Regions from separate parts of the Homo sapiens genome. Here regions 1, 3, 4, 5, 6 and 7 are each linked to region 2. The links are contacts of gene promoters, found by promoter capture Hi-C in blood cells and fetal thymus (Javierre and others, 2016). All regions are on one chromosome and are shown on one strand. Each heading gives the region's core, a stretch centred on a gene start or on the middle of the fragment in contact. The rest is flanking DNA. Distances are from core to core; before and after follow the strand shown.

Region 1 (3,692 bases), core at 1,184-3,683, 750 kb before region 2:
CAGGCTGCCTAGGGACCTCGGGACCCAAGGAAAGACATAGTAGTGAGTTTTCTAGGCTTCTGTTTCTTTGGGTTTTCTATGCCTCATCTATCCCAAGTCAACAATCCAGAAATACCAATATGTATGGGCAAAAAAAAAAAAAAAAGCCCAAAGAAAGCTTGCTCTTATTATCCAAAAAAGAGCATCCCGGAAAGATAGAAAATTTTTAGAAAATAAGCATTCTACTCTAGCCAGGCACTATAGAAAATAACTGTATGCTCCCAAACAAAGGCCAAGTTGGGCACCTTTGCTAACTCTAATGAGGCACCCCAAGCCTCCCACCAGAGTGATATCAAAGAAAGCCCAGATGGAAGCAGAGGTTTTTATGATGCCAGGCAATGAGAAGACCTCACCTTCATCCCTGAGGTGTTGGCAGGGAGGCTGGACTTCCAGCCTCACTCCTCAAGTCCCCACTAGCTTATCAACAGAGGAGGTCCAGAGGAAACTTAGAACAAGCTCAGTGGTAAAAAGGACATCCTTGTCTCATAGTGACAGTGGAGCCACTCCTGCCTCTCCATGCCAGGGTGATGTCACAGAGAACCAGGGAAAAGCCTGAAGTCTCCTGCCCATTCAGCAGTAATAAGAATTGCCTATCTTCAGGAGTCAACAGAGGCTGACTTGGGAACTGGGACTTCAATACTTGTAGCCCCACCTGGAAATAAGGAGACAGTGCCCCTTTCACCCACCAAAGCATTACCAGAAGAAGACTGTTATACCAGATCAATAAGATCCAGAGTCTGATAATACCCTAAATGTCCAGGTTTCTATCAAAAATCTCTTATACTAGGAACTGGGAAAATCTCAACATAAATGAGAAAAGATAATCAACAAACACCAACACCAAAATGACACAAAGGCCAGGAATATCTAACAATAATTTTAAAACAGCAATTATAAAAAAGCTTCAATAAACACTTATGAATGTGTTTGAGACAAACGAAAAACAGAAAGTCTCAGTGAAGAGATAGAAGATATAAAGAAGACCCAAATGGAAATTTTATAATTGAAAAATACTATACCTTAAAAAAATTAATGGATAGTCTCAACAGCAGAATGGAGAGGAAAAAAGGATCAGTGAAGTTGTAGAATAGGACTTTTCCAATTTGAACAACAAAGAGCAAATCGACTGGGAAAAAACTGAACAGAGCCTCAGGGACCTATGGGACAATCACCAAATATCTAATATCTGTGTCACTGATTAGTCTCAGAAAGGAGGGAGAAAGAGATTGGGTCTAGGAAAAGTATTCAGAGAGAGTCTGAAGATCTCAGCAATACTAGCTCCCTGCATTTCCCACCCCACACATCCTCAGAAGCTAGAGCCTGGATTGCTGAATTTTAGAAAAGCTCTATTAGCCTCGTGATGCAGCAGTCCAACAGCAGTCAGTGCCACACCATAAGCCCAACTCAAGAAAAGAGATTTTGGCCGGGCACGATGGCTCATGCCTGTAATCCCAGCACTTTGGGAGGCTGAGGCGGGCGGATCACTTGAGGTCAGGAGTTCGAGATCAGCCTGGCCAACATGGTGAAACCCCATCTCTACTAAAAATACAAAAATTAGCCAGATGTGGTGGCACATGCCTGTAGTTCCAGCTACTCAGGAGGCTGAGGCAGGAGAATCACTCGAACCCAGGAGGCGGAGCTTGCAGTGAGCCAAGATCGTGCCACTGCACTCCTGCCTGGGCGACAGAGTGAGACTCTGTCTCAAAAAAAAAGATTTTGATAAAGTGTGTATGAGTTTAAAACTCCTTTTCTGACCCTAAAAATTTCCCAGTTCACTTTCTTTTATTCTGGTCCCTGACCATGATGCAAACCTGAGAAATCCACCAGAGACATAAAGTGGAGCTGTCAGTAGGACTGCACCCCAAATCAGGCAGTCTAGGCTGTGTTTGACTGTGGAAGAGAGGGAGGCAGGTGGGGCCACTCTGACCCGCAGATTTTATGTCCCGAGAAGGAGCAAAGAACTCTGCCACCATCCTGCTTCCTCTAACAAAGCCCCTGACAGAGCAGTCATGAGTAATGCTTCGACCTGGAGACCACCTAAGAATTTTATCTTTAAACAGTTAAAGAAGAGCTGTGATTTTCAAAGTTTCTGCCAATCCTTATATTGTTAAATGTGCATTGCCAACCCGCAGTTTGTTTGAGAGAACATTTTATTGGGACTTTTTGTTACAAAAGGCAATGTCTAGGGCAGAGTCTGGAATGAGAAGGTTGACACAAAGGAAGCTAAATAGCTAAATTGTTCCATTTAACAAATGATCGGTAAGTTCCACATGCAGTAATAATGTGTGTTGTAAAAAGGTTTTGTCTGAAATGGGTGGGAGGTGAATTTAAGGACTTGAAGAAAAGGGGGAAAAGACTGTGGCACAAGAGAGCAGACCCACAAAAATAGTAGCAGGCCAGGAGCCAAAAAAAAAAAAAAAAGCATAAAAAATATCAGTCCCCTAAAGCAGAAATGGCTAATGAACTTAGGAAAGGTGATTCACTTATTCTATTTGAGGTCGTTTCCTTATTTGTGCTACATGACCAAACCTTCAGGTAAAGTAAATTCTCTGTTACAGCCCTGAGTTAATGATACAGAAGGTTTTGAAGGAAAGGTACTCCTTTCTGGCTTGGAATGAATTGGTATAGGCAGGAGACAGGTACCAGGAGGATAATAGCTCCAGAGCTAAAGAAAGTGATATAGGAAATGGATACTAGGAAGTTTGTCAAATGGGAGAATATATAAGCCAAGAGCATCTTGTACCCACTTCTTTTCACTCATTGACTCAGGGAAATACGAGAAAGGGTATTAGTCAACTGCATCACTTATTGAATTTGTGGAAGAAGGGCTCATTTATTGAATTTGTATTTGAAAGGACAGCGTAACCTCAGAAGGCTGAATGACTTGGAGCTACTTGGCTCACAAATTTCTTCTTCCTGAATATTTTTGAAATCTTGCAACTTACAGTACTTACCATTGAGCATCCCAAAGATTTCCAAGTAGATGTGGGGAACCTTGTCCCTTAGGGTATGGCATGAGTTTGTGCATGTGTTCTGCTCAGGGTTCCCTGTCAACAAATGAGACAAATACAAAAATTACATAAATCTTGCCTAGTAAATAGAGGGAAGATATTCTAAGACAATGACAATTAAAAAAAAAATAGTCCGTCAAGTTGTCCTTGGCTGGACCTAACCATCAATGAGAAAATGCATGCACAGGCTGGGAGGAAAATCATATTACGTGTTATGTGGAAACAAAACAGAAAAGTACTGGCCTTATTAGGTTACCACTTAAGAACCCTGCCGCTTAGGCTGGTGTCTTGGTTTGAGTCTTCCCCATAGCAGAGCCTAAGACAAGGACTTAGACTTGGGGGCAAGTGGTTTATTTGGAAGGAGATATCAGGAAGCTGAAATAAATGAGCAGAAGAGTGAGAAGAAGGAAAGGAAACATAAGGCTGTGTTATAAATGTGGGTTTTTTCTGCCGGGCCCTCTGAGAAGCAAACCAAACGCCCTGCAGTCATCCCCTTCCACCTCTCCCACTTCTGGCCAAAGACAAGAGGCTGAAAATTTTCTCCAACAGCTTCCCATTGTCCTTGGTTAATGATTGCCCAAGGACAAAAATCCCTGCCTCTTCCAGTGTCCTCTTTCCTGAGCCAAATCCCAGGAAAACAGG
Region 2 (3,436 bases), core at 452-2,951:
GAAGTCCGAAGTGAAATACAGCCTCCTCTGGCCCAACTGTCATGCAAACAACTTCTAAGCATCTTCAGATGTAAAGAAAAACAGTCATTGTGCACAGGCGTTAGCTGAATGTTCGAGAGTTGGATGAATGGGGAAGACTTGTTATACACCTAGTGGTGGGTGGATTTCACTAGGCTGCAGCCTCCACACAGCTTTTCTTTGCTGCACTGCAGAGGCGCCATCTTCTCCGTCTTAATCTTCACTCAATTCGATCCTTTTATCTGCACCCTAAAAAAAAGACCCTTCGGACCCTCCCCAGCATCCTGTGCCCCCAGGGGAACTAAACCAGAGTCCCCAGAGCTGCCAGGGAAGAGGCCGCGCCTTAATCAGACAAACGCCTCCTTGGATGCACAGGACAGAGCCCGTGCCTCCCCACCATCCGCCACTGCCCTTTCCAGACGCACATCCCACTCTCCGCCTTATTTCCTCCCCGCCAAGGACTTTACAGCCCAGCACAGAATTAAGCCTCGGAGGTGATCCGAGGGTGGGAAGCAGAGGGGCCCCGAGGCTCCGCCAGAAGCCCCGGCAGCGTCTCTGCCCCCTCCCAGGCGGACGCGCAGCCCCGGGAAGGGAGCCGGGCGGGAGCCTCGGTGGCGCACTGAGACTAACGCGGCTCGGCCCACGGCGAGGGCGGGGTGTCGCGGCTTTTGTTCCCGCGGACCTTCTGCCTCTCAGACAGAGCTTAGGGTGCGAGCGAACTCCCGGGACGTCCAGACTTGGGGAAGGCGCGGGGTGGCTATGGGTCTCCGACCCCTCCCATTTCTCGCAAGTTACACAAAAGGGAGACGCGGACATGCACAAAGTTTGCCTGTGGAAGGCGGTGCGCGACCCCGACGCCGGCTCGGGCTAGGGTCGCACCCAGGCTGCCGCCGCCAGCAGCCGCGAAAAGAGGTTGGAGCAAGGAAGGGGGATGGGGGTGAGAGAGGAAGGTGAAACGAGGCGGAGAACGCAGGGAAAAGCGAGGGGCTCCTAGCTTCCTGGGCTGTCCCGACTCCTCCTCCTCCTCCCCAGGGCCCAAGAGAAAGGAAAGGGCAACGATTCAAGAGCGAAGGACTGGCTTTAGGGACGCTGCGTTTTCGGTTTTCCCCACGTGCTCCTTCCCCCTTCCCCCCTGTCTGAATGTCTCTCGCCTCCCCCGACCCCCGCTTCCAAGGCAGGGACTAAGTCGGGGTCTGGGCTCAGGGTCGCCCCCTACCCTTCTCGCCCCGGGCTGGCGCGGAACCAGGGAGACCAGCGCCTCGCCCGCTCCCTCTCAGCGGGCCGGAGCGCGACTCCCTGGGGCAGGGCTGGGCCGAAAGCGGGGATGCGCTGGACGTCCGCAAGCGGGGGCGGAGAGGAGAGGGGTCCCATTGACGGACCCCCGGCTTCTCTGCATTAAAGACTTGGGTTAAGGTCTTGGGGGGTATCGCGTCCCCACCGTGCAGCCTCCCCCCGCCTTCCGAGGCGCGGCACCCACCTCCAGCGCCCGAGCCGTCCAGGCGGCCAGCAGGAGCAGTGCCAAACCGGGCAGCATCGCGACCCTGCGCGGGGCACCGAGTGCGCTGCTGTGCGAGTGGGATCCGCCGCGTCCTTGCTCTGCCCGCGCCGCCACCGCCGCCGTCTCCCGGGGCCCCCGCGCACGCTCCTCCGCGTGCTCTCGCCTACCGCTGCCGAGGAAACTGACGGAGCCCGAGCGCGGCGGCGGGGCTCAGAGCCAGGCGAGTCAGCTGATCCGGCCCACCCCGCTCGGCACCCGAGAGAGACCCCTAGCGGCGCCGCCGGGGAACTGCGCCCGCTCGCGCCGGGAGGGGCCCTCGCGCCCCGCGCCCACAGGTGCACGCGCCCTTGGCGCCGCCTGCACCCCACGCGCCCCCTCCGCTCCCCGGCCGACGGCCCACCTGGGCTTCGTGAACAGTGGGAGGGAGAGTCTGGGGCCAGGAGAGGGACGGTGCAGGATCAGGGAAAGGTGAGTCCTAGGACGCTGAGGCTCTAGAAAAGTCGAGAGCGCTCCTGCTCGTCCCCGTGAGCTTGAATCATCCGACCCCGCAGGCCTCCCGGGGGTGTCGTATAAAGGACTGCTGCTAGGGTGCGTTTTTATCCGCATTTCGTTTTTTCTCTCGGTTTGGAGAGGTGGGGCAGGCGTTTCTGGAAGAGAATGAGAACGAGTGAAGCTTAAAGGAAATAGGATTTTCTTTGCTTGTTGAGACAGCAAAACCTCATTTTTTAACCCCCAACGTCAAAAGCAGGCACGAGCAACCTGGAATTTCTATCTTTAGAACGAACCAAAGGAGCAAGGCGCAGGACCTGGCAAAGAAGCGGCCAACCCATTTACTTCTTCTTGAAAGCAGGGTTCTGGGCTTGGGTTTTGTTTCTTTCTTATATTTTTGTTTGTTTTTGGTTTTGTTTTGTTAAAGGGGGTGGTCAGTGTGGATTTTGCGGGGCGGGGGGTCTTTTTTTGTTGTTAAGCAGGGATGTAACATCCATCTGAGTTGGGGAAGAAGGAAAAATTAGGAGAGATCATTCGTATTCGACCCCCGTAAATGAGGACTTCTGACCTCAAACGCTGCCCTTGTTCTTCATTGTGTCTGTCCTGAATTATAGAAATGAACCTTCTGCCATGCCACTTTCTCCTGGATTAAACACAAACCGTCCACTGTCCAGTTAGTGTCCAGATAGTTTAGAATGCTCTAGAACTGCCCAGATATATCCCCTGCTCTTGACCTGAAGTAGCATTTAGTTACCAAGCCACAGCCCACTCCACACAGGGCTTGGAGCGAAGGACTGAAGCCAGGGAGTGCTCTGGCCCTTCTGAGGGCTGCACTGCAGCCTGCCTTCTCTCCCTTGCTCATTGCGCTGACAAGGGTGCCTAGGCCCGGGAAGGATGGCTCAGCCAGCGGGGTACAGACTTCCTTCCTGGGAAGTCATTTCTGTACCAGCTCCCCTAAATGTTGTCTTGTGTGTCTTTTCCCGCACTAGGCATTCAGTCTTGACTCTTGGATTACTTTTGCCCCTGAATGTCCTTTGGATGTCCTCAACAAATAAGGACAAATATTTATTGTCATGCAGTATTTGTTTATACGCTTCATGTCATTTACTTCCTACAAAAGCCAAAGAGGCTGTTACTATTATTCCTATTTATACATCAGGAAAATGAAGCTAATGAACTCCCAAATCTAATAGCAAGTAAGTGACATGAAGCTGGGACAGCAGGGAAAAGCCTAAAGTGACAGGACAAACCCAGTTGTTCACTTTCTGCACCACATTTACCCACCGCAATTCCGTATTTGTTCCGGGTCTGCATGAGCAAATAAGGCAAAAAAGAAGGTATCTGAATGCAAAGAGAAACGTGGTCCAAAGCTACAAATCTTGCAGAGTCCACTGCAAAATGCAAACGTGAGACCCTTTGTTACATTATTAA
Region 3 (3,886 bases), core at 291-2,790, 530 kb before region 2:
TCTCCTTTATGTCCTTCCCTTCAGAATTTGACCCATTTTTCAAGGTTTAATAAAGAAAGCCCTGGCCCCACTCCCAACAAAAGGAACAGCCCCTTATCATGGACCTTGGACAAGCCATTTAGTGTCTCTCCGCCCAGTTTTCTCATCTGCAAAGTGGGAATGATAACATTTCCTCTTTTATGGAGTTGTTGGGGGATTAGATATTGCGTTATTCAGACTCCATCACTGAGAAAGCATGCAATAAAAATAGCTGTTATTATTTTCTGTCCTCCTGTAACATTTACCATGTGGTATCAGGCATCTTTCCTGATAAGACTCTGTCTCCCCTCAAGACTGTGAGCTTGTTAGCAAGAAAGCCTCTATCTTGTTCATGGTTGTCCTTCAGCATCCAGCACATTGTTGCCATTTGTCAAATGCCTTGGCTGGGTGGCAAATAAATAACTTAGTCAGTTACTCACATAGGATTGCATAGAATTTTTTTAAGTATGACATTTTTGTGTATATTTTTAGGGAGGAGTAAAAGACATATAGCTGTAGCAAGAATTAGAAAAAAGAAGATGCCAACAACTTTTCTTTTTAAGCATCAAATCCTTCTCATTACTGCCCAGAAAAACTGGCATAAGCTGTTGTTAAATCTGTGCCCCTTCTCCTCGGTTGACTGGAGTACGAGTTTTAACATTTTGCCATTTTGACTTTCCTTTCTGGGTCCCCTGGGTCCTCTCCTCCCACCCCCTCCCTGGGTACTAAGTTTTCATCACTGTCACCACGGCAACAGCAAGGATGCCTCATTCCTCACAGTTCTGCACAGCTAAACTCTGGTCGCCTTTGTCCACTGAGCTAGCTGAATTCTTTTTAAATACACCACTAAATCAACTATCTGCTGTACAGAACTTCATCCATTATTCAACCTTTAAAAAAAAACAAAAACAAAAACAAACAAAAAAACAAAAGAAAAAAACTGATGTATACTAATTTCTTCTCCTGGGAATGGCCTTTTTCCAGACCTGCCAATACTCTTGAATACACCATACATTTTTGGTCCCTAGGAACAAATATAAAAATTGCCAGTGTACGTGCGTCCAATGTAAGTGTGGTGCAATTTTAAAGCACGCAACAGAGCATTCATAATGGGTTTCCCTTTTAAAAGCACAGTAGACCAAAAATAAACCTGACAAAGGGCAGCTGTAGAGTTTTAACACGTGGAAAACTCCACAAGCAGCAGTTATGTAACTTGAAAGAAACATGATAAATATTTCACACCATTAGATGAACTTCCAACTCTGACACTGAAAAAAAAGCAAAGAACAAGAACGCGAGACAAATGCACCTCAAATCTCCAAGGAGCAAAAAGCTTAAACTGAGAAGGGACCAAGGCTGTACTAAAATCTGAGACCTGACTTCCAGCACGAGTCTTGATTGCTTTTTTTTTTCTCGAGTTCGAGGCGGAGCCCGCGAACCCCATCTCCTCAGAGCGCCACCCCCTCAGCTTCGCCCGTTGGGCAGAATTTTCCAAATATCTCCACCCCTAGGCTGAAAAGCCAGAAAGAAGTTTTGAGCCAACGAGGGGAAGAAAGGAGTTGGGGCAAAACAGGAGGCGTTTCCCTACCCGCATACATCCCCGTCCCCGAGACACCCAATCCCCCCACCCCCAGCCTGCCCGCGCCTCCCGCCCCCAGCTCCTCGCCCTGGGGACAGCTGGCAGCCCCGCGCGGACCAGACACAAAGCCGATCAATCCCGGAGGCGTGGGGGCGGAGGGACGACCCGCCGGGGCTTTCCCGGGCGCTGCTCTCCTCCTGCTGCCCCCTCGCTAGGACCCGGCGGACGCCTCGTCTGGTTTTCACGCCCTCTAGCCCCTACCCCCACACCCCCAAAACAGAACAGACCCCCATCCCTGGGCTGGAGGACCCGCCTCTTGGCAGCCAGCTGAGAAGGCGCCCCGGGGAGGGGGAAACTGACATCCCATCTAGAGCCGTCCCTCCTCTTCCTCCCCTCCCGACTCTCTGCTCCTTTCCCGCCCCAGAAGTTCAAGGGCCCCCGGCCTCCTGCGCTCCTGCCGCCGGGACCCTCGACCTCCTCAGAGCAGCCGGCTGCCGCCCCGGGAAGATGGCGAGGAGGAGCCGCCACCGCCTCCTCCTGCTGCTGCTGCGCTACCTGGTGGTCGCCCTGGGCTGTAAGTTGCTCGGGTTCCTCTACCCTTCCTGCCTGGACCAGCCTGCCCCCACCCTCCAGCCCCCCACGGGGCGCTGGCTGACAGTGTCTGGGCGGCTCTGGGCCGAGGTCGCCGCGGGGCGTCTGACCTTGCGCCCAGGCGAGCGGGAAACCCAGGGTGCCCGCGAGCGGACGCTGGGAGCAAGGGAGCGCGAGGTCGTGGGTTTCTTGTGAATTGCGTCTGATTTTGTCAGTTCTAGATACAGAAAATTAAGGGTTCCCACTAGCAGGTTCTCATCTGTTTGCAAAGTTGGGGTAAGTTTTCAGACAGAGGGACGTGATTCGAATGCAAAACTCACTACCCACTGGTAAGATGCTAAGACCCCAAGAAAGATGGCATCACTGGGAGGCGGGCGCCGGCCACACTTTGAGTCCCCGGGGAGGGGGCAGCGTCCGCGTGGTCTGGGCTCTGTAGCGTCCCAGCTGAGCCGGCGATATGCAGCGCACTTGTGGGGCGGAGGTGGAGGGAATTCGTGGCTGCTGAGCCAGAATTACTTTTATCCTCTCCACCTGCACATCTACATTCACTTAGAGAAGTCTGGTCTGGGGACTCTAGCCAGCTGCTCTGTCCTCAGGGGACATCCAACGGGACGATTGTTAGAAAGATTCAGAAGCCACATGATCCAGTAGCTGGGGAGACGTCCCAAAGCCAATTTCACCGGATGATTTTAAACAGGATTTTCACGGATTCTGGACTCATGAGATTTGAAATCCTGGGAACGTTGCCGTTATTTTGTTTTCTTCGCGTTAACTTTTTAGGAAAATGGAGGAAATTACAATAGACTAAGCAATGCAGTTCTACTTTTGCTTTTTCTTTTTTCTCTCACCTTTTTTGTTTTGCTTTTTTCCCTTCCTTCCTTCCTCCCTTCCTTTCTCTTTCTTCTTTCTTTCTCTCTCTCTTTCTTTCTGTCTCTCTTTCTTTCTTTTGTAAAATGAGTTATTGTTGCTATTCACGTTCTGGTAAAGTAACACTTATAATACTTAACCTGCGGGACGAGTGTCTAATACCACAATACAATGATATTTTCTCACGCCCTCGCTGCCCAAGTGATCATCGCACAGCTCAAGTGATGTGAGCCACGTCCCTTTGTGGAGGAGGAAGGTGCACATTGTCTCAGGCAAGGGACATGTACTGACCAATATTATATAAAGTCAAACCAGAAAGCCAAAGTTTCACAATGAAACCCTTGTGCAATTCTGAAATATCAATTGGTATCATATGGAACACACAGAAGAAAAAAAATGCACTCATGCTAAAAGGCAACAGAGAGGTAGGCTGGAGAAATCGTTAACAGAACAACTGAGAAAGTTATGTATTCTGCTGAAATTCTAAATTTCAAATAGAAAAGAGTGTGCCTTTTAGTGTAGAATTGTCACTAATTAAAAACAGAAAATCGTTCTGCTGTGCTATTCCTATTGAATCACCAACATAGAAACAATACACCCCAAGTCTGAAATTGTAGTGGAGAAACAACCAAGAGGCGAACAAAAGCATAAATGAATGGGGCTGAGTGACCTCTTCAAGCTTTAGGTAAATATAACACATTGTCTCTGCTAAACTTGATTCCTATAGGGGATGTATTTGGAAGTGTTGTGGGGACTTTTCTATATTGTTCCTGGGATACTAAAAGATCTGGCATTGCAAGAGTGTTTTCTTTGTATGTGGGTGTTTTTTTT
Region 4 (3,909 bases), core at 1,148-3,647, 560 kb after region 2:
CTTAGTTTTTAAAATTTTTTTAAAGTTTTATTTTAGTTTCAAGTGTACATGTGCAGGTTTTTTCTATACATAAATTGCATGTTGTGGAGGTTTGGTGTACATATTATTTCATCATCCAGGTAATAAGCATAGTACCCAAGAGGCAGTTTTTCAATCCTCCCTCTCCACCATCTACCCTCAAGAAGGCCCCAGTATCTATTGTGAAACTCAGTTTTGTTGGGTACAAAATTCTAAGCTGATAGTTATTCTGTTCATGGAGACTAAAGATAAGACCCCAGTTCCTTTTTGCTTGTAAGGTTTCTCAGAGAAAGAATAGATTTTCCTTTACAGGTTACCTGATGCTTTTGTCTCACTGCTCTTAGAATTCTTTCCTTCATGTTGAATTTAGATAGTCTGAAGAATATATGCATTGGTGGTGTCCTTTTTGCCATGAACGTCCCAGGAGTTCTTTGAGCTTTTTGTATTTGGATGTCTAAATCTCTAGCAAGGTCAGGGAAGTTTCCCTCAATTATTCCTTCAAATAGGATTTCCAAACATTTTGCTTTTTATTCTCCTTCAGGAAACCAGTGATTCTTAGGTTTGGCTATGTTACATAATCCTATATTTCTTGGAGACATTTTTCACTTCTGATTCTTTTCTTCTTATTTTTGTCTGATTATGTTAATTGAAAAGTCTTTCCTTTGAGTTCTGAAATCTTTTCTTCTACTTGGTGTAGTCTATAGCTAAAATTTTCCACTGCATTTCATAGTTCCCTAAATGTATCTTTCATTTCCAGAAATTATAATTGGTTTTTCTTAAAATATCTCTTTAGAACATTTTTCATTCATATCCTGAATTGTATTTTTAAATTTATTTATGTTGGTTTTCACCATTCTCTTGTATTCCCTTGAATAACTTAATAATCAACCTTTTGAATTCTGTGTCGCAGATTTCAAAGATATCATCTTGGTTTGGCTCCACTGTTGGGAGTAAATGTGATATTTGGGGCTGATATAGAACCCGATTTTTTCATATTGCCAGAATCATTTTTCTTGTTCCTTCTCATTTACTTACTTTTTTTCTAATTATTTTTGAATTTACTTTTTATTTGACTGGGTTTTAAATTTTTGTTCCCCCTTGAGGATGAGACTTTAACATTTATAAGCTGTTGTCATCTACCTTTGGCTGTAGGTGTTTTCAGTGGTGAAGACTTTGTGTGAGTTTTCAGTTGTAGAAAATCTTTGTGTGATGAATTGCTCTGATGAGGATTTAGTAATGATATGCTGGATGTGTGAGCAGATTCACTGTCTCCTGTGGGGCTGAAGTGGCAGAGGTCTCAGGAAGCTTATCTCATTTCCCAGTGGTGTGCACTTTTATAAATGTTTTCCCCACTGTTTTACTCACTGGGTTGAACAGTTCAGGCTTTGGGCCATTAGGAGGTGCCCATGAGGAAAAACTGGCCAAGGATAAAGCAGATGGGTAAGTTCAATACCCCAGTGGTGACCAGAGGTCCCAGCTGGGGAATCTCTCAGTGAAATGCACTGAGGTCTTTTCAGAAGGAAGGGAGAAAGCCACCATACCTCCCCTTCAGGAAATTCATCCCAGTTACACTCTTGACCCCATGTTCCAGCTACTCAGATTAGACAAACACCTCTTTATCTGCTTCATGTAGACAGGGATGGTGACTCTACGTCTTGTGCAAGCCAAGCCTGAATCAAGGGCGCTCCTACTGTGGGGATGCATCCTGCAGTGTTCCAGAAAGGCTGTCTACGGATGCACCCATGCTAAGCTCCCATGGGAGACATTCAGCTATGTCTGGAGTGGCAGACGCGGGGGAGAAGAAATCAGTATTAGGGTTCTCTAAAGAAGCAGAACTAATAGGATATATGTATATAAGAAAGGGAGTTTATTAGGGAGAATTGACCCACATGATCACAAGGTAAAGTCCCATGATAGGTCATCTGCAAGTTGAGGAGCAAGGAAGCCAGTGGTGGATCAGTCCAAGTCCCAAAACCTCAAAAGTAGGGAAGCCGACAGTGTGGCCTTCAGTCTGTTGTTGAAGGCCTGAGGGCCCTGGCAAACCACTAGTGTAAGTCTAAGAGTCCAAAAGCAGAACTTGCAGTCTAATGTTTGAGGGAAGGAAGCATCCAGCACAGGAGAAAGATGAAGACCGGAAGACTCAGCAAGTCAGCTCCTTCCACCTTCTCCTGCCTGCTTTATTCTAGCTGCATTGGCGGCTGATTAGATGGAGCCCACCTAGATTGAGGGTGGGTCTGCCTCTCCCAGTCCACTAACTCAAAGGTTAATCTCTTATGGCAACACCCTCACAGACACACCCAGGAGCAATAATTTGCTTCCTTCAGTCCAATCATGTTGACACACAGTATTAACCATCACAAAGTCCCCTTCTCCAAGACTGTTCATGAGCACCAGGGCTGCCTAACCGTTGAGGTAGACCCCACAAACTTTCCACACTGAGTCCAGCACTGCTGCTGTGACTGCTGAAAGAAACTTTCCACAGTGAAAAGGTAGGGACCCAAGGCCTGAAGTGTGGTTTCTTTTGTCCCATGGAATGCTCCCTTAATGTGGTACATTCCCTCTTTTTCTAGGAGTAGCAGTCCCTGAGCACCAGCCTACTGTGACTCCTGCTGCTCCTCTGGGTCTAACCACCCAGTGGGGCTGCCATACTTTGATGCTGGGAATGTCTACAAGGGATCGAGTGATGTGACCTGTCCTTCAAGTCTCCCAGCACCAGATCTGATAGGGGTGAGAGAGGAGTCATGTAGATTCTGTGAGATTCCTTGGTTATAAATAGCCTTAGTGTTGTGGCCTTCACAAATGCCAGCTGTACTGGTCATGTAGACAGATTCAACACCTCCTGGTTAGCCAGTGTGACCACAGTCATGTTAGTCTCTATTCAAACTGGGGTTGCACAGAAGTTTTCTCCTTTGTGAGCATGATGTTAACGGAACCGGCTGATATTGTATTGGGTTGTGTCATTTAACCTCTAGCCAGGAGGTGGCGCCTGCGAAAGACCACAAGCTGTGATAGCAGCAGTGGAATTTTTGCTTTTGCTTGCCTTTTGTTACCCAAGGAGGTGCTCTGGTGTTTGAAGTGATGTGTGGGGCCACGGAACTTTCAAATGTCTCTATCCATTGTGTTACCCTACAAGGACAGGTGGAGAAGCAAAGCCCGGCGGGGGTGGGTCAGGCCGTCTGTGCTCTGGCTTCCCATGTGGAGTCACAAGCAGCTGCCCCAGTGGAAATCAGAGGTCAGTTCCCCGGCCCCTGGGGTAATGTTCCACAGAGCAGCACAGCTGCTTCTGTTGCACAGAAGAATCCACATGGGGAGTGAAGTGTAGCAGGTGGCGGTAAGCCCCACTCTGCTCCCACACACTTGGCAAGGCAGGTCTCACATCAGCAGTGTTCTGCTAGCAGCAGCTTGCTGGGTTCCAGGCAGCCTGCAGTCAGAACTTCAGATTGCCCCAGGCCATAAGCTTTCCTGACCAAGACAGAAACTGGGCTTTCAGGCCACATTCATGAAGCAGAGGCCCTCAGCTTCTGTGCCTGTGGCTACAGCACACTTCCCAGTTACCCCTCAGTTCTGGCCGATGGGGTTCATCTCCGCTGAAGATTATATCGCAAATCTCAGTTGGGAGCTTCTCTCAAAATGTGACTGCCACCTGAGTTAGCTGGCAGACTTCTGCGATCTTCCCTGTGAGATAGGGTGAGGAATGGCTTCCCTCTGTCCCTGCTGGGGCCTGGGAGAACATGCAAAGCTGTCCAAATGCTGCTCCTTCTCATATGTTCCCCACCACCCACTAAATCAGTTCCAATTCTAGATAGAGTTAAGGCCTCCCCCCGTGGCCTGGATTGCTGGGATCTTCCATGGCAGTGTTTGTCATGGTGGCATTCTCTCCCCCTTCACACT
Region 5 (3,516 bases), core at 86-2,585, 530 kb after region 2:
AATCTGCAACATCTCATTGCACAAAATTTCCATCTCTTCATCCAAGCAAGTTAAATTTGTCTTGATTTATCTGCATATTGATCTGTAAACCTGATAATTGATAGGGAAGATTCTTGGAGATTTCTAAAGTCTGTCATTTTTATAGATGCAGACTTTCATGTAGCACAATCAGAACATTCTGACATAGAAAAAAAAAATAATCAATGTATGTGATATAGTTTGGCTCTGTGTCCCCACGGAAATATCACCTTGAATTGTAATAATCCCCACATGTGAAAGGCGGGATCAAGTGCAAATAATTGAATCATGGGGTTAGTTTCCCTCATGCTGCTCTTGTGATACTGAATGAATTTTCATAAGATCTGATGGTTTTATTAATATAAGGGGCTTCCCCCTTTTCTCAGTACATCTCTCTCCTGCTGCCATGTGAAGAAGGTTGTGTTTGCTTCCCCTTCTGCCATGAATGGAAGTTTCCAGAGGCCTCCCCAGCCATGCAGAACTGTGAGTCGATCAAACCTCTTTCCATTATAAATTACCCAGTCTCAAGTAAGTCCGTTTAGCAATGTGAGAATGGACTAATACAGTATGTTAACAGGAACCCTGGTGGCTTAACTCATTGTGGAAATGGACAGCATGGGTTACAAAACTCATATCTTAGAGAGGTTTGGCCATTATCAAAGCAAAATTCTCTTTCATGGGACTAGTTTTAGTTTCTCTCCATGGACTTATTTTGAGGTGAAAACAGTAGAGAAACTCCATGGAAAATTTAGGTCTTTTGTCTTGAATATGCTATAGAGTTAAAAATGCAATATTACCCTTTTCACAAGTTTAATTTAGCATTCCTCATAATGGTTTATATTTCAAACAAAAAAAATTATCATAGTGTTTTAGTCCATTTTCGTATTGCTGTGAAGAAATACTCAAGACTGGGTAATTTATAAAGAAAAGAAGTTTAATGGACTCACAGTTCCACATGGCTGGGGAGGCCTCACAGTCATGGTGGAAGGCAAGGGAGGAGCAAATGCTTACATGGCATCAGGCAAGAGAGCATGTGCAGAGAACCTGCCCTTTATAAAACCATCACATCTCAAGAGACTTATTCACTATCATGAGAACAGCATGGGAATATCTCGCCCCCATGATTCAATTACCTCCCACCTGGCCCCTCTCATGACACATGGGGATTATGGGAGCTACAATTCAAGATGAGATTTGGTTGGAGACAGAGCCAAACCATATAATTCCACCTCTAGCCCCTCCCAAATCTCATGTCCTCATATTTCAAAACCAATCATGCCTTCCAAACAGTTCCCCAAAGTCTTAACTTATTTTAGCATTAACTCAAAAGTCCATAGTCCAGTCTCATCTGAGACAAGGCAAATCCCTTCGACCTATGAGCCTGTAAAATCAAAAGCAAGTTGGTTACTCCCTAGATACAATGGGGGTACAGGCATTGGGTAAATACACCCTTTCCAAATGGGAGAAATTGGTCAAAACAAAGGGGTTACAGGCCCCATGCAAGTCCAAAAACAAATAGGATAGTCATTAAACCTTAAAGTTCCAGAATGATCTTCTTTGACTCCATGTCTCACATACAGGGTCATTCTGATACAAGAGGTAGGCTTCCATGGCCGTGGGCAGCTCTGTCCCTGTGGCTTTGCAGGGTACAGCTCCCCTCTTGGCTGCTTTCATGGGCTGGCATTGAGTGTCCGTGGCTTTTCCAGGCACACAGTGCAAGATGTCAGTGGATCTACCATTCTAGGGTCTGGGTAGTCCTCTTCTCACAGCTCCACTAGGCAGTACCCCAGTGGGGATTCTCTGTGGGGGCTCCAACCCCACATTTCCCTTCTGCACTTCCCTAGCAGAGGTTCTCCATAAGGGCCCTGCCCCTGCAGCAAACTTCTGCCTGGACATCCAGGCATTTTCATATATCCTCTGAAATCTAGGTGGAGATTCCCAAATCTCAATTCTTAACTTCTGTGCACCTGCAGGCTCAACATCACATGGAAGCTGCCAAGGTGTGGGGCTTGCACCCTCTGAAGGAATGGCCTGAACTGTACCTTGGCATATTTCAGCCATGGGTGGAGTGGCTAGGACACAGGGCAGTAAGTCCCTAGGCTGCACACAGCAGGGGGGCCCAGGGCCCAGCCCAGGAAACCATTTTTTTTCTCCTAGGGCTCTGGGCCTGTGATGGGAGGGGCTGCAGTGAAGGTGTCTGACATGCCCTTGAGACATTTTCCCCATTGTCTTGGTAATTAACATTTGGCTCCTCATAACTTATGCAAATTTCTGCAGCCAGCTTGAATTTCTCCTCAGAAAGTGGGTTTTTCTTTTTTATCACATCATCAGGCTGCAAATTTTCCAAACTTATCCTCTGCTTCCCTTTTAAATGTTAAGTTCCATTTCTAAATCATGTCTTTGTGAACACATAAAACTGAATCCTTTTTACCAGCACCCAAGTCACTCTTGAACTCTTTGCTGCTTGGACATTTCTTCTGCCAGATACTCTAAATAATCTCTCTCAAGTTTAAAGTCCCACAATCTCCAGGGAGGGGCAAAATACCACCAGTCTCTTTACTAAAGCATAGCAAGAACCAGTTTAGCTCCAGTCCCCAATAAGTTCCTTATCTTAATCTGAGACTACTTCCGCCTGGAATTTTGGGTCAAAGCCGTTCAACAAGTCTCTAGCAAGCTTCAAACTTTTCCGCATCTTCCTGTCTTCTTCTGAGCCCTCCAAACTGTTCCAACCTCTTCCTGTTACCCAGTTCCAAAGTCTTTTCCACATTTTGGGGTATCTTTACAGTAGTGCCCACTACCAGTACCAATTTACTATATTAGTCCATTTTCATACTGCTATGAAAAAATACCCGAGGATGAGCAATTTATACAGAAAAGGAGGTTTAATGGACTAACAGTTCCACATGGCTGGGCAGACCTCACAAGCATGGTAGAAGGCAAAGGAGGAGCAGAGGCTTACACGGCAGCATGCAAGAGAGTTTGTCCAGGGGAACTGCCATTTATAAAACCAGCAGATCTCATGAGACTTATTTACTATTATGAGAACAGCATGGAAAAAACCTGCCTCTGTGATTCAATTACCTCCCACTGGGTCCCCCCCACAACACATGGGGATTATGGGAGCTAAAATTCAAAATGAGATTTGGGTGGGGACACAGCCAAACCATATTACATAGTATTCAGGCTTGTTTTAGGAGTTAGAAAAAGAGGAAGAGGGAACTGATATGTATGTTGTCAGCTCAGCTCCCAAGAAGCACAATTCTGTAGAATATGCCAAAGACATCACAAGGTTAGCAGTTCAATTCTTCATACAAATGGATGCCATAATTTAGCGCCTTTTTTTTAACCAGCCAGTAAAAACTCTCACTTGCAACACAAAGACAATCTTCAAGGCATGCAGTTGCCTTCTATTTCTAATAATTTCTGAAACATGGTAGTGTATTCACGATTTTATTTCAGATTCCATAACTGAAAATCATAACAATAGAATAGAAAGTT
Region 6 (3,897 bases), core at 440-2,939, 600 kb before region 2:
TAAACGGTCACTGATACACATTTCCACAGTGACCCTGCAATATCCACATTGGCTTTCTTCTAAGACACTTCAAAAATACATCACACCTTTATGTGTTAAATATCACTATTGGCATATATCTTTAAAAACATTTATTTTCTTAATTCTCAAAATACAGAAAAGAATGTTATGCTATTGTGTGCACAAACTGCTATTTTCAATAAGGAGCTCTTAATTTAGAAAGTTGCTATTTTTCAATAAAGAGCTCTCAATTAGAAAATATCAAGAAGTGATGTTAAGTTTTTATGGAAATAAATAAAGTATCATGACATGAAAAGTTTATAATTTTTCCCCCAGCAATGGCTTACTCAGGGAATTTTTCTTATATGTAAAGTTAATGATCTGAAAAGTGGTAATCTTATCATTCACCAAGATTTCAGGATATAAGTTATTCCTACAGAACAATCCATTTTTACCTTTAAAGATGAGTTTGTGTACTTCAGAAGATGTGACGCCAGTTGGCCACCATCTCAATCAGTAGTAAGTCACACCATCAATCCCTTGTTAATGATGGAACTCATGTGAAGTCAAGAGGAAACATAATACTCTTTACCTCATTCCCTGGTAGCAGAGAAGTTGACTCATCTTTAATGTCAGTTATTGAGATGTAACACAGAATCATATTCTACAGAAAATATGTGATAAACTTTACACAAATGAATACACTTTAGAAAGGCAGTCATTTGGATTTTCTTTTTGTCAGAGAACATTGCAAGTCTTCCTGAAGAATTTCTGAGAAATTAAACACTTTATATGACATTTTACAGCATGTAGAGAGGTTGAAACTCAGAGAACTAAAACTCAGATGATAGTCTAAATACTTAATTTGTTGCTGCTTTATGCTGGACATGAAAAGTGTGAGCTTAAATTATAAATAAAAAACTATTGAGCTATCAAACTATTTGGGGTACATCCTTATCTTTCCTCTAAATTACTCTTTATTCCCATTAAAATCCACCTATCCCGGGTCCTCTCTCCTCAGCCCTTCACCTCTGCTTTCAAAGATGACTAACTAACCTAATAAACACATCTAAGGTGATGTGTCAACTTCAACCCCAACCCTTTTTCCCCAGATAACTTGTCTGCATTTCAAGAACAACCTACCAGAGACCTTACCTGTCACCTTGGCTCTCCCACCCAATGGAGATGGCTCTAATGGTAAGGAATTCTATCTTAAGTAAAAGGGAAGGGAAACACGCTGACAGATGCAGTTTTTATAAAGGCAGGTCATTGGGGCACCAAGTTGGCAGCCGCTTTCAACTTTTGATTCTACCTCAAAAGGTAACCAAGAAATCGTTGTTATTCTAAAGATTATGACAAGTCCAAAGTTTCACAGAATCCTGATTTTTATACACTTGCATTAATCACTGCTTACTTCCATGATGTAAACCAAAACTGCAGCGGCAGAATATAGAGAATCAGAATAAATTCTGATAGAAAAGGCAGATACTGTTTCCACATATACAAGTATATGCTAATTGCTTTTAGCAAACTGATCCAAATAGGAATCAACATTATTCCATCTTAATGATTATGTTTTTGATTGGTACACATAAATGTTAAAGTGGGAAAATATGCAGAGAAAGTTACCTAAACTAAATCACTTTAATTTTCAACAACATAATTACATTCCATTTCACCTACTAAAATGGCTTTGGACCTAGAATTTGTATTGCTACATCAATATAAGATGACTTTCAGTAAAAATAGATGTACAGTTGATTTGTAACAACAAATTAATAGTTTTAAATTATTTGTATATTTCAAGGTAAATAAAATTAGAGCTATCCCACAATCGCTTTGGTTATGAAATTCGACCACTGTAACTTTTTTTAAAGAAAACTTTATGGTGTGCAGTTCCTTTGGTATGCAAATATTAAATGGTTGGTGCTGAGAATAAGCAGCAATATAGAAATATATATAATTGTAGAAGAATATAACCTATGATTTAGACATAAAATGAGATCCTTACAAGATAAAGAGTTATGGAGATGGATGATAATGATAGTTGTAGAACATTATGACTAAGTGTTTAATATAGCGGACCTGTACACTTAAAAATGGTGAAGATGTTAAACTTACATTATGTTTACATTACATATTTCACCACAATAAAAAATTTTTGAAGGAAAACCAGAACTTTAATGACAAACTTAGGACATATTATGCTCTGAATATATAGTTTTGATAACGTCTTTCCTGGCAAATCAACAAGGTAAGAATAAAAGGATATTCTGAAATCTTTTTTTTTCTTTGGAGACAGAGTCTTGCTCTGTTGCCCAGGCTGGAGTGCAGTGGCACAATCTCGGCTCACTACTACCTTCTGCCTCCCAGGTTCAAGTGATCCTCCTGCCTCAGCCTCCTGAGTAGCTGGGATTATAGGCGTGCGCCACCACGCCTAGCTAATTTTTTTGTATTTTTAGTAGAGACGGGGTTTTACCATGTTGGTCACGCTGGTCTCAAACTCCTGACCTCATGATCCGCCCACCTCGGCCTCCCAAAATGCTAGGATTACAGGCATGAGACACCACACCCAGCCAGATATTCTTAAATCTTATGCTCACACTCCACCCCCCCCAAAAAAATTGTCCTTCAGGAAAGCATAATTTAAGGAAAAATTTCCCAAAGTGCCACCTTCAGCTTCATTCTTAGCACCAGAGGAAGAATTGCCTGTCATATAATGAAAGATCCTTGGTGTTATCATTAATCTAGTATACATAGTGCTTCCTCTTGGTAGATTTTTACCTACTGTGAGAAGGAATGATTTTGATACTCAGACAGTGTGTAGTAATTTGTTAAGAACATTTAACTTGGAACCTATGCTACACAGTAAAACTTATACTGACAATGGATATTTCATGTGGTAGGCCTAAGAAGTATTGTGGAGTGAGGGGACTGGAAGTATATCTGCAGAACTACCTAGTCAAAGACCCCAGTCTAATTTCTAATATATAATTCATATAAATTACTCTTGCATTGCTATACATTAAACATTATGCTTGTCACATTCTTACTTGGTTAGCACTGTCACTACTGATTGTCAGGCCTATAATTGTGTATAATTCTTCCCCTGCCACTTTACCAGCTGGTGGCCACACCGATTCCAGAAAGAACTACTTTATTTCTTATTACCTCATGAAAGCACCCTCTGCCCAGTGCCTTGGCTAATAGACTGGCCTTTGTTGTCTATGACCACTAATTCCCACTCAGGCATATAGCAATTCTGTTGTTGGTTGCTTAGCCCAGTCAAAAACACTGGAAGTGGACATAGACTCCACACTGATGAATGAATGACCTTCTAGTCATTCTAATGTCCTTAAAAGTCTACTATTTTTAAATTGTAGAATATATATATATATATATATATTTTTTTTTTTTTCTGGGATATTTCTCCTTTCTTCTGTTCATTAATGTTTTTCATCTATCATTGTGTTTTAAATATGACCTAAGGTTCTATAGTATATTTAGACAAACTTCTCATTTCTCTGCAGTGTTCGGAATTCATCATGCCTGTATGACAAGGTTGTGTTTGAGAACAAAAGGGGACCTGTGTGACATGTTTTATTTCAATATACATTTAGAGTTTGAACAAATAAAAAAAGCTATTAGAATTTTTAATATATATAACACATTATCAAAAACACTGTCACTTTTCTGAGTGCTCTAATCAGGCAATTCGTATGTATATTTAAAAAGAGGGAAAAAGCTAATTAGTATACTAAATATATTTATTTTAATACCTGTGCTCATATGTTATCTTTAAAGAACAGGAATAAAATTTATGGGTAGAATAGTATGCCAGCAATTTACCTTCAATACAAATTAAACACATCTTTTAAGAAAAGGGCGAGTTATATT
Region 7 (3,383 bases), core at 718-3,217, 580 kb before region 2:
TTAATAAACTAGTTTCATCAAAATTAAAAACTTCTCTGCAAAAGGCTGCTCAGAGAATGAGAAAACAAGCCACATATACAAACACAAGGTACAGACAGAAAAAGAGAGAAATCTGAAAACTACATATCTAACAAAAAACTAGTATCTACAACATATAAAGAACTCTCAAAACTCAACTGTTAAAAAGTAAAACAATCTAATTAGAACACTAGCAAAAGACATAAACAGACATTGCACCAATGAAGATATACAGATGGCAAATAAGTACATGAAAAAATGATCAATACCATTGGTCAACAGAGAAATTCAAATTAAAACTACAATGAGAAATCACTACAAACATATCAGAATGACTAAAACAAAAAAAAAAGTAGTGACAGCATCAAATGCTAGTGAGGATGTGGAAAAACTGATCACTCACACATTGCCAGTGGGAATGTAAAATGGTACCGTCACTCTGGAACACTTTGGTTGTTTCTTAAAAAACTAAACATACACTTATCATATGACCCAGCAATTGCACTCCTGGGTATTTATCCCAGAGAAATATTCACAAAAACCTGCACACAATGTCACAGCAGCTTTATTTGTAATAGCCAAAGACTGAAAATAACTCAGATGTCCTTTGATGGATGAATGGTTAAACAAACCATGATACATCCAGACCAAGTAATACTACTTAGCAATAAGAATGAATGAACTACTGATATACTCAATGTACTCGGATGAAATCTCCAGAGAATTATACTGAGTGAAAAGTGCCAATCCCAAAAAATTACATACCGTTTGATCCCATTCATACAATATTCTTGAAGTGACAAAATTATAGAAAAGGAAAACAGATAAGTAGTTGGCAGGGGTAAGCAGGCAGGGTAATGGGGGCAACAGAGGGAAGTGGCTGTAAATGCGTGTGTCTATAAAAGGCCAACATGAGGGATCCCCGTAGTGAAGGAATTGTCCTGTATCTTCATTGTATCGCTGTCCATACCCTGGTGGTGATACTGTATTTTAGTACTGCAAGATGCTACCATTGAGGAAACCAAGTAAAGGTACATGGGATCTCTCTATGTCTTATAACCCAATTATCTCAAAATCAAAAATTTAAATAAAAAGATTAGCAAGGGGTGGGAGCAATGTGGAAAATGTCAGGCTTCGGGTCATGATGGATCATTAAAATTAGAGGGAAGAGCATGCCAAATTTAAGCTTAAAAGGCATTCCAGGAAGTCTTACCAATACGCACTCTAATACCCCCTCTGTCAATGTACCCTCACCTATGCTAACTTGAAATTTTTAAATGCTATGTCAATTTAATTTTTTCAACTAATGTTTCTTTTGTAATTGTATATTTACACCCTGGGCAACTTTGTTTTTAATCATAAACCTGAGTTTATAAAATATTAGTGTCACATAACTTAAGAAAAATTAAAAGTTTATATTCTTCAAACTGGTATAAAATCAAGTCCGGAATTATATCTATACCCAAATTGGAAGACCTAGAACTTTAAGCTTTACTTACTCTTAAGTGAACAGGTAAAGACACGCCCTGGAATCTTCGTATGAGACTTGGCTGGGTGGGTTGAAGATTGTGAACTGCTGATACTTCATACTGGAAACAAATACTTGTTCTTGGAATAAGAGGGCCCTCACTCACATCAATGAAGTCACCTATTCTGATTGATTTAAAAATAAATAAACAAAACTGCAACATCAAATAATTTGTAAGAGCTTGAAAAAGAAATCTCTTCCTTCTCTTTGCTGCTAACATCCCTAATCAAGAACATTATATATGGTTCAATTCAGTTTCTAATGACCCCTGACATAATGATCTCAAGTAAAGAGGCTAAAACTTTGAAAATTAAATCAAATGAACCATTTTCTTAATTAGCATTGATATAGGTTTTAAGGTCTTTAAGAGTCACGCAACACATCATGCTATCAAGCTGATCCAATTGCCTAAAACCGATCATCTACAACCTTACAATAACCCATGTAACGAAGCTGAGAATTCAGTGTGTAGGACAGATTGTGTTCAGAAACAAAGGGCAGTTTCTAGAGGAAAAAAGTGAAGTCCAATTCATAAAAACAGGAGGCTGAGAAAATGGATCCAGGTCATGAAGTCATTTCTGCAGAATGCATTGTCTTGGGACTTGCTCCCCATGGGAGAACGTCATCATAAGCAGTGGACCTTTCTCATCCATGCTTGAGAAAGCACATTCTGGCTTAACTTACATGTATCTTAAGTAATTACTAGTTAGTCAGTATTCATATGAATTACGATGTTCAATTCATCACAATGACTATCTTGCCCAGTTTCAAAACACCTAAAAATTACATTCTTAAACAGTGGTTTTCAACTCAAAATTAAATAAAAATAGCAAACAATAAAATGAGGATTATAGAAACCACAAGTGTTCCTGAAGATAATTTAAAGCTTCCATTTACCACCATAACAAAACAATGAACGAAGCAACCAAAAATAAGGTAATAAGAACAAAATAAGACACAAATTCATCTTTTTTGGTCATATGCTTCATTCAGATAACAATAAAGCTAAGCCTTACTCTAACATAGCAGCCAGTTTTTAGACTTTTACTTACCTGTGTAGCTTGACTATTCTCTCAGGGTTCTGAGATGCCTTCTCTTCTATGAAATCTACTTTGTACCTGAAAAGCAGCAAAGAAAAAAACATTTTTTTAACTCAAAATATGTAAAAAGGTGTTTAAAGATACCTCCCTTTCTCTTCCTCTTCAGCCATACTTTCTGAGAGTAGGTTACACTTGGAACCTCCCTTTAATCTGGCCACAGCCCCATGACTCTGCCAAACTGTTCTCAACAAAGTCACAGACCTGCTTGGTGTCAACCCAGTGGACATTTTTTGGTCCTCATTTTCTTAATACCAATGCTCACCTCCACTTCTCAATGTGTTCTTTCTTTCCATTTTTATTTCTTTGTTCTTTTTTTTTTTTTTTTTTTTGAGGCAGGGTCTTACTCTTATCACCCACCCTGGAATGCAGTGGCATAATTATAGCTCACTGCAGTCTCAAACTTCGGGCTCAAGCGACCCTCCTGCCTCAGCCACCCAAGTAGCTGGGACTACAGGTGTGAGCCACCATGCCGGGCTAACTTTTTTTGGTAAAGATAGGGTCTTGCCATGTTGCTCAGGCTGGTCTCAAACTCCTGGTGTCAAGCAATCCTCCTGCCTCAGTCTCCCAAAATGCTGGGATTATAGCGATGAACCACCACATCCAGCCTCAAAGTGCTCTTTCCATGGGTATCAGTGGCATTCCTTACTGCTTGTTATTTTACATCTCTGGCCACTCCTGTCTTTCTCTACCCTTTGAGAATTCTATCCTACACCCTCTTTTCACGCTAAGCATCCTCC

What was found. Contacts are between HindIII fragments. The CHiCAGO score rates a contact against its expected background, and 5 or more counts as called.
Region 1: a fragment that was not itself captured here is called in contact with the fragment with the promoter of APP in region 2 in 1 of 17 cell types (naive B cells); the score reaches 7.0 in naive B cells.
Region 3: a contact is called between the fragment with the promoter of JAM2 here and the fragment with the promoter of APP in region 2, in 1 of 17 cell types (erythroblasts). The highest score is 5.2, in erythroblasts.
Region 4: a contact is called between a fragment that was not itself captured here and the fragment with the promoter of APP in region 2, in 1 of 17 cell types (endothelial precursors). The highest score is 5.0, in endothelial precursors.
Region 5: a contact is called between a fragment that was not itself captured here and the fragment with the promoter of APP in region 2, in 2 of 17 cell types (megakaryocytes and endothelial precursors). The highest score is 7.9, in megakaryocytes.
Region 6: a fragment that was not itself captured here is called in contact with the fragment with the promoter of APP in region 2 in 1 of 17 cell types (fetal thymus); the score reaches 5.8 in fetal thymus.
Region 7: a contact is called between a fragment that was not itself captured here and the fragment with the promoter of APP in region 2, in 2 of 17 cell types (naive CD4 T cells and fetal thymus). The highest score is 9.2, in naive CD4 T cells.

The regions. Positions count from the first base shown.
Region 1 is chr21:25,417,715-25,421,406 of GRCh38, forward strand. LINC00158 (long intergenic non-protein coding RNA 158) reads right to left here. Exons shown (of 5, transcript NR_024027.2): 4 at 2,994-3,086. Among named protein-coding and RNA genes, the nearest start is that of LINC00158, 12 kb to the right of the region's middle. The HindIII fragment of the contact is 2,988 bases long and covers 940-3,692 here.
Region 2 is chr21:26,169,069-26,172,504 of GRCh38, forward strand. It overlaps APP (amyloid beta precursor protein), which reads right to left and starts at 1,702. Exons shown (of 18, transcript NM_000484.4): 1 at 1,496-1,702. The coding sequence starts at 1,552. It overlaps APP-DT (APP divergent transcript), which reads left to right and starts at 1,799. Exons shown (of 4, transcript NR_186396.1): 1 at 1,799-1,984. RefSeq lists enhancers at 205-414, 913-1,437 and silencers at 455-724, 1,225-2,054. The HindIII fragment of the contact is 2,642 bases long and covers 1-2,187 here.
Region 3 is chr21:25,637,718-25,641,603 of GRCh38, forward strand. JAM2 (junctional adhesion molecule 2) reads left to right here and starts at 1,541. Exons shown (of 10, transcript NM_021219.4): 1 at 1,541-2,171. The coding sequence starts at 2,105. RefSeq lists enhancers at 1,174-1,313, 2,051-2,551, 2,454-2,523 and a silencer at 1,534-1,723. The HindIII fragment of the contact is 2,383 bases long and covers 1,350-3,732 here.
Region 4 is chr21:26,729,699-26,733,607 of GRCh38, forward strand. No RefSeq gene overlaps it. Among named protein-coding and RNA genes, the nearest start is that of ADAMTS1, 110 kb to the right of the region's middle. The HindIII fragment of the contact is 2,152 bases long and covers 1,322-3,473 here.
Region 5 is chr21:26,700,440-26,703,955 of GRCh38, forward strand. No RefSeq gene overlaps it. Among named protein-coding and RNA genes, the nearest start is that of CYYR1, 130 kb to the left of the region's middle. The HindIII fragment of the contact is 2,709 bases long and covers 1-2,690 here.
Region 6 is chr21:25,568,725-25,572,621 of GRCh38, forward strand. MIR155HG (MIR155 host gene) reads left to right here. Exons shown (of 3, transcript NR_001458.3): 2 at 1,113-1,197. Among named protein-coding and RNA genes, the nearest start is that of MIR155, 3.3 kb to the right of the region's middle. RefSeq lists a silencer at 491-540. The HindIII fragment of the contact is 6,296 bases long and covers 1-3,897 here.
Region 7 is chr21:25,591,295-25,594,677 of GRCh38, forward strand. It overlaps MRPL39 (mitochondrial ribosomal protein L39), which reads right to left. Exons shown (of 10, transcript NM_017446.4): 7 at 2,599-2,664; 8 at 1,518-1,671. Among named protein-coding and RNA genes, the nearest start is that of LINC00515, 9.8 kb to the left of the region's middle. The HindIII fragment of the contact is 925 bases long and covers 1,506-2,430 here.